Regions from separate parts of the Homo sapiens genome. Here region 2 is linked to region 1. Evidence: promoter capture Hi-C in human tissues and cell types (Jung and others, 2019). All regions are on one chromosome and are shown on one strand. Each heading gives the region's core, a stretch centred on a gene start or on the middle of the fragment in contact. The rest is flanking DNA. Distances are from core to core; before and after follow the strand shown. Region 1 holds the start of DCLK2 (doublecortin like kinase 2). Region 2 overlaps DCLK2 (doublecortin like kinase 2).

Evidence for each region. Contacts are between HindIII fragments. The study calls those that stand out against the background at their distance.
Region 2: a contact is called between a fragment that was not itself captured here and the fragment with the promoter of DCLK2 in region 1, in 2 of the 25 tissues and cell types used here (H1 embryonic stem cells and heart right ventricle).

What each region holds. Positions count from the first base shown.
Region 1 is chr4:150,076,726-150,080,042 of GRCh38, forward strand. It overlaps DCLK2 (doublecortin like kinase 2), which reads left to right and starts at 1,720. Exons shown (of 16, transcript NM_001040260.4): 1 at 1,720-2,723. The coding sequence starts at 2,303. The HindIII fragment of the contact is 8,036 bases long and covers 197-3,317 here.
Region 2 is chr4:150,146,696-150,150,207 of GRCh38, forward strand. All of the region lies in intron 2 of DCLK2 (doublecortin like kinase 2), which reads left to right. Among named protein-coding and RNA genes, the nearest start is that of DCLK2, 70 kb to the left of the region's middle. The HindIII fragment of the contact is 3,352 bases long and covers 570-3,512 here.

The DNA.
Region 1 (3,317 bases), core at 470-2,969:
GCCATCTTAAGGCAAGTTGATGGGCTCTGTGGAGTTACTGGTACTTAGATGGAAACTTATCTCAATAAATTTGCAATTTAGTTTCTTGTTTCTCAAAGTCTTGTACCAAGACCAGCAGCATTGGCATTACCCAGGGGCTCATCAGAAATGCAGAATCTCAAACTCCACCCCAGAGCTACAGAATAGCAATCTGCATTTTAACGAGATTCCCCTATGACATGTAAATATATTAAAGTTTGAGAAGAAGCACTGATTTATTTGATTCCTGGTGTTACAGCCTGTGGTTGGAAACTCTGGATATACCTTAGGGGTACTTTTAAAAAAATACTGTTGGAGAAGCCCGTCTCCAGAAATTCTGATTTAACTGATCTAGGTTGAGGCCTTTTAAGGTGGTGGACCTAATGATGCTGCAGGATTTTCCTCTAGAAAAACTACATTGAAGCCTCAGATCAGCTCTGACTTCCTAGCATGCCCCAACCCCGCAGGAAGTTAGGTATGCCCAGGTGTATGCCCAGAACTGCCTTAGGAGTAGTATTGTGCACCGAGCAGGAGACCTTTCTGGAGCTGCCATGAAGGGTGTGTATGCGTGTGTGTGCGTGTGTTTGGTGGGGCGCACCAACTTCACAGATGCTAGACCGTTGCATGTGCTTCTACCTTCTTTTATTCATGCTCTTCCAGGACTCAGTTCAACCCGAAAAAAAGCAACTATGCCTTTCTTCCTGAAAGGTCAGTTTGGATTGCTGTCTAGGGCTGCTCAGAAAACCAGGTGTTGAATGTTCTAAGGTTTCACGTGCCAAATTGGGATCAAACATATTTGAGCTTTATTTTTCCTAATAACAAAATGCAAGTAACTAGTATTTCTCTTAAGTCTTGGAAAAGATGTTTTTATTGTTGAATAGACACTACGGCATTAAGATTTCCACTATGATGGGTGCTCACAAATGATAGGCCTCTTAGGTAAGAAGCTTTAATTGACAACATTAAATATGCGGGGCGGGGGGAGTGGGTGCAGAGTCTCTCTTTCCTTTGTTAGGGCATCCCAGTGACAGAAACAATGCCTGACACATGGTACGCTCTCGATAAATATTCGTTGATTACATAACCCCCTCTACCACCCAATAACTTCTCATCATTCATTCAAAGTTACTGAACGTACCATATTAGCGAATCTGCAATGGAAACAGTGGAGGCTGTTTTCTCAAAGGATTTTCTAATAAAGCAACAAATCTTTTTTAAAAAAAATGAATGGTGTGCCCCAAGTCAATGCTGGGCTTCGGATTTCTGCGGTAGTTTGGCCTGGGGTCCTCACTGGGATGCTGGCTGGGGATGTGCTCCCTGCCCTTGAATCTCCTTCCTTTGTAGTTTTTGGCCTGCGCGGTTACGTTTCCCAGGCGGAGGAGCGCGCGTCGCGGCTGCGCCCATTAACGCGCGGCGCCGGGCAGGAGCCGTCAGGCGGGCGGGGCTGCCCGGGACCCGCAGGAGCTGCTCCTCCCGCGCCGGCGCTCGGCCCCCTCCTCCGCCCCCTCCTCCGCCCCCTCCTCCCCTTCTCCGCGGTTTGGCATCCCCGGGGCCGGGAAGCCTCCTCCAGCGCTGACAGCCTGTCGGCGGCGGAGGGAGGCCAGAGCGCGGATGCTTGCCAGTGGGCCGGGCCTGACCGCTGCGTGGGAGGCGGGCTGCATTATTTCCCGCTAGGGCCGCGCTCCAGGGAAGGAAGGGGCCAGACACGGCCCTCTCAGCCCCGAACGGCGCGCGCTGCCCGGCGGGCGGGATCCGGGCGCGGCCGAGGCGGCGGCGCTGCACCCCGGGCCTGGGCCCGCGCGACTCCCCCGGGGGCCTCTCCCACGCTCCGCGCCCCGCCCCACCCTTCCTTCCTTCCTCCCCTCGGCGCTCCCGGGAGCGCTCGGCAGACGCCCGAGCTTTGTGGGCGCCCGCGGGCCCAGCGCGAGCCTCGGGCGGCCCAACTTTGCCTCTCCCGGTCGGCTCCCGAGCGGGACTTGTGAGGCGTGGCCGGGTGGAGGAGGCGCTTGCGGGGGCGTGGGGCTCCCCGGCAGGCGGGAGGCACGGAGCAAGTCGCACTGGACAATGACCTGGGCAGCTCGGCGCTGCGGACACTTTTAGCTGAGGGCGCGGGCGGGTCGGCTCCTCCGCGGCTCCTCGGCCCCACCTGCGCGGAGAGGGCGGGATGCCAGAGCCAGGTGTCCCGGCGCGTTAAGGGCCCTCGCAGTCAGACGTCCCTGCACCGGCGCTCGCACCCTTAGTCGGCCCGGAACGTCTTTTTGCGGACGCCCTCGGAGCAGCCGCGATGGCCAGCACCAGGAGTATCGAGCTGGAGCACTTTGAGGAACGGGACAAAAGGCCGCGGCCGGGGTCGCGGAGAGGGGCCCCCAGCTCCTCCGGGGGCAGCAGCAGCTCGGGCCCCAAGGGGAACGGGCTCATCCCCAGTCCGGCGCACAGTGCCCACTGCAGCTTCTACCGCACGCGGACCCTGCAGGCCCTCAGCTCGGAGAAGAAGGCCAAGAAGGCGCGCTTCTACCGGAACGGGGACCGCTACTTCAAGGGCCTGGTGTTTGCCATCTCCAGCGACCGCTTCCGGTCCTTCGATGCGCTCCTCATAGAGCTCACCCGCTCCCTGTCGGACAACGTGAACCTGCCCCAGGGTGTCCGCACTATCTACACCATCGACGGCAGCCGGAAGGTCACCAGCCTGGACGAGCTGCTGGAAGGTAGGAGGGGAGGGCGCCGCACGGCAGGTGCGGCGGAGCGCCGGCAGGTGCAGTGGGCGTGAGCCGGCGCAGCGGGGAGCCCGCGGGGTGCTTTCCAAGCCGCACGGGAATTGATGCTTCTGTCTGCTTCTCTAGAGATTGGCTGGGGGTGGGGGCCGGTGGGGTGCCCACATACACACTGACTTTCCTTCCCAAGAGGTTTGTCTCTTAAAGAAGGAAAAAATTTCCTGATGGTCAGGCCAATTTAGGCACTGGTGGCATCTCCTAAGATTGTTGAACTTATTTGTATTGAAGTGCAAACTGTTTGAGAAAATGGTTCTCCCATGGGGAGCTGGGTAATCCCCTACTAATAAGCTCTGTTGGACCCTCGGTGTGGACCCTGGTGCAGGCTCCTGTCATGTTCCAGTATTCGGGGTCCTGTTGTGACTGCTGTCAGAAGCTGTGGTTGTGAAATGCTCTAGGTTGGCTTTCCTAGTTTGCCTTGCAGCAGAAGTTACTTGAGGTGAAGAGGGATGATCCTAGACAGCAGGTCTCAACCTTGGCTTCATCTTGGATCACACTGGGGACTTCGAAAAATATGGGACCCTGATCCCC
Region 2 (3,512 bases), core at 996-3,495, 70 kb after region 1:
TTAGCCTTCAATAAGTGTTGGTTATTTACTATTAAAGAATCCTCAGATATATGAGTTCTGTAATTTGATTAGAGTTTAAATGCTTAAAATGTGGCATGATTTGATGTATTTGAGAAAAGAAAATAGTCATAGAGTGAAGATAGGGTTTCAAGTCTTGGGTTCTAGATCTGGCTGTACCACCAAGAGGCTGCATAACTTTGGGAAGGTTACCTAAGGGTTATCTACATTGTCTGTAAGATGGAGATAATGATGTATACCATGGCTACCTGATAGAGTTTTCTGAGGGTCAATTGAAATACTGTATGTGGCCAAGTGTGGTGGCTCATGCCTATTATCGCAGCACTTTGGGAGGCAGAGGCAGGAGGATTGCTTAAGCCCAGGAGTTCCAGACCAGTCTGGGCAACATAGTGAGGCCTGTTTCTACCAAAAAAAAAATAAAAAATAAAAAAGATAAGTTAGCGAAGCATGGTGCCATGCCTATAGTCCCACCTACTTGGGAGGCTGAGGCAGGAGGATCACTTGAGCCCAGGAGTTCAAGGTTACAGTGAGCTATGATCATGCCACTGCCCTCCATCCTGGGCAACAGAGCAAGACCCTGTCTCTAAAAAATAAGAAAACAAGAATAAATGTAAAAGTATGTTGTACACTGTAAGGCAGCAAGTGGGAACTGATATTTTCAGACCCCTTTTGTATGGGGGCCTGGAGTTTAGTTACCTTCATAAAGCTGGCTATGTGAAAGACCAGACCAAAATCATTTATTTCTATATCATTATTTTGATATAAACAGGTTGAAATAAAATGGTAAGAAAGTGCAAGCATCAAAAATAAGTTGTACAGATATTTTGTCCCATGTACCTGGTGCTTGCTGGTTTTTGACCCTGACCTAATCGTGACCACTGTCATTCCTTATAATGTAAATTGTATTCCCTTCAATATTCAGTCCCATTATGTACAATTTGTATTGTAAAAACTGGGCTATAAAAGAAACACCTGGACTTCATAGAAAGTTGCCCTGCCTGTGGAACTGATGCTGGAAGTATGCAGGGTCAGATGTACAATCCACTGTATACTCCATGGCATCTCCAGTTTGGGGAGAACATTGCCAATGCATTTTAGTCCTATTTTTACTTTTGGTGGAGAATTGTAATAAACAGATTAATTGAAATATCAATCTGGGCAATATTTATTGGCAAAGTATTGAGAAAATATTTGTCAAATAATGAATAGGGTAGATGTTGAAATTAGGGTTGCCCTAGAAGGTGAACTATGATAGCGTTAAAAAGTTGCCTCAGAAAGAATTGCAGGAGAAATCCTCTTATTTTAGTGATAGTTTATTGGTAAATGAAAAGTCTTCCTGAAGGGATCATTAAAATTACATGTACTTTTTTGTGGCTGGTCACAGTGGTTCACGCCTGTAATCCTAGGACTTTGGGAGGCCAAGGTGGGTAGATTGAGCTCCGTAGTTCGAGACCAGCCTGGGCAATGTGGCAAAACCATGTCTCCACTAAAAATACAAAAATTAGCTGGACGTTGTGGCATGCACCTGTAGTCCCAGCTACTTGGAGGGGCTGAGGCAGGAGGATTGCTTGAACCCAGGAGGTTGAGGCTGTAGTGAGCTGAGATGGTGTCATTGCACTCCAGCCTGGGCAACACAGCAAGACCCTGTCTCAAAAGAAAATTCATGTCTTTTTTTTTTTTTATGTTTTTAAAAATGGAGGTCTTGCTGTGTTGCCCAGGCTGTAGTAGAGTGGCTGTTAATAGGTGTGATCATAGCACATTGCAGACTCAAACCCCTGGACTGAAGCAATCCTCCTGCCTCACAGCCTCCTGAGTAGCTAGGAGTACAGATGCATATCACTGTGCCTGGCTTACACTTATTTATAGTGAATGTTAACTTACAACAGTAAGTACACTTTGATTCACCACAAATTTGATGTATATCTAAAGCTTTTTCAGTGTGATCAGTGAAGAAGGTTTTACCTTACCTATCTTGTATGACCTACATCTAAATATAGAGTTCATAATTCCTAGTTTGAGTTCTTTGAAATAAGTGGAGGCCAGGCGTGGTGGCTCACGCCAGTAATCCCAGCAGTTTCGGAGGGCAAGGCGGGCAGATCACTTGAGGTCAGGGGCTCATGACCAGCCTGGGTAACATGGTGAAACCCCGTTTCTACTAAAAATACAAAAATTAGCCAGGCGTGGTGGTGCATGCTTGTAGGCCTAGCTACTGGGGAGGCTGAGATGAGATGGGAGGATAACTTTAACCATGGAGGCAGAGGTTGCAGTGAGCTGAGATTGCACCACTGCACTCCAGCCTGGGCGAAAGAGTGACAGACTGTCTCAAAAAAAAAAAAAAAAAAAGAAAGAAATGGAGACCATGGATACCTGAAAGAAAAGAAAAGAAAGAAAGAAAGAAAGAAATGGAGACCATAAGATACCTGTGAACCAATCTGAGGACAGAATCCATTTAAATTTTATCAGACCCCCCACCCCTCAAATGTAAGATATCTTGACAACATTTAATTCAGTAGCAGTTTATTTTAGTAATTATGGAGCTTTTCCAAATAATTTTAGTTAATTTCTATTGAAAAACTTCATTTTTATATTCATATTTTCTCAATTTATATAATTAAATAATGTTGTCAGGCACAACTGGTGTAAACAGGTTTGGGAGGAAACAGAACTGACTCTTGGTATATATTAAACTCAGCTGGTGGAAGTGGGTGTGTTTGGGTATCAGAAAGTAGTCTATGAGTCCTGGGCATCCAGTGTCCTTCAGCCAGGATGTTTCACAGAGGGAATAGAGAGCATTGTGGAGAGAGAATCAGCAAGGTTTTATTGCATCATTTGTTTTGGCAATTGGCTGTAAAGATGCCTGGCATGAAGGGAGGTATTTTGGTTTTTGGTTTGTGGAGCTTTTTTGCTTAACATTTTGTGAAGACTAACTTAAGGTCATTTGGCAGACGTGTTATTTCACACATAAAAGCTTCTATTCTCATGAGGCAAGGAAGCAAGAACACATTTTTCTTTGCCAATGAATGTCTCTTGCTCTGTTTTGGAATTGTGTTTAATACATAAAATCTGCACTGATTCTGGACTTCATTGAAAGAGATTCTGTAAGGTTGATTGGGGATGGAAATGAGGTGGTCTAGTAATTTTCAAAGTGCTACTGAATTACATAACAGTCTTTGTAAAACCAAAGGAACCCAAATTTTAGAGCAAATAAAACTTTACATTTTAAATTTGTTCATGTTTTTAAATGAATGTCTTTTTGCTTTTTTGTTCAAAGAGCATTTTGACAAAGAACATAATTGAAGTGTATGGGAGTGTGTATAGAATATACTGACTTCTTAAAAATGGAGGTTATTTTCCCCCCCTCCTAGTTTCCAGCATTTAATGGGAAGTTTAACTAAATGTGTATGAAATAAATTTAAAAAAATAAAAAACAATTTATATACTGTGAGTCATGCATATTCTTGCCATTTCAGAAAGGTCAAGATAAAGTATCGTAT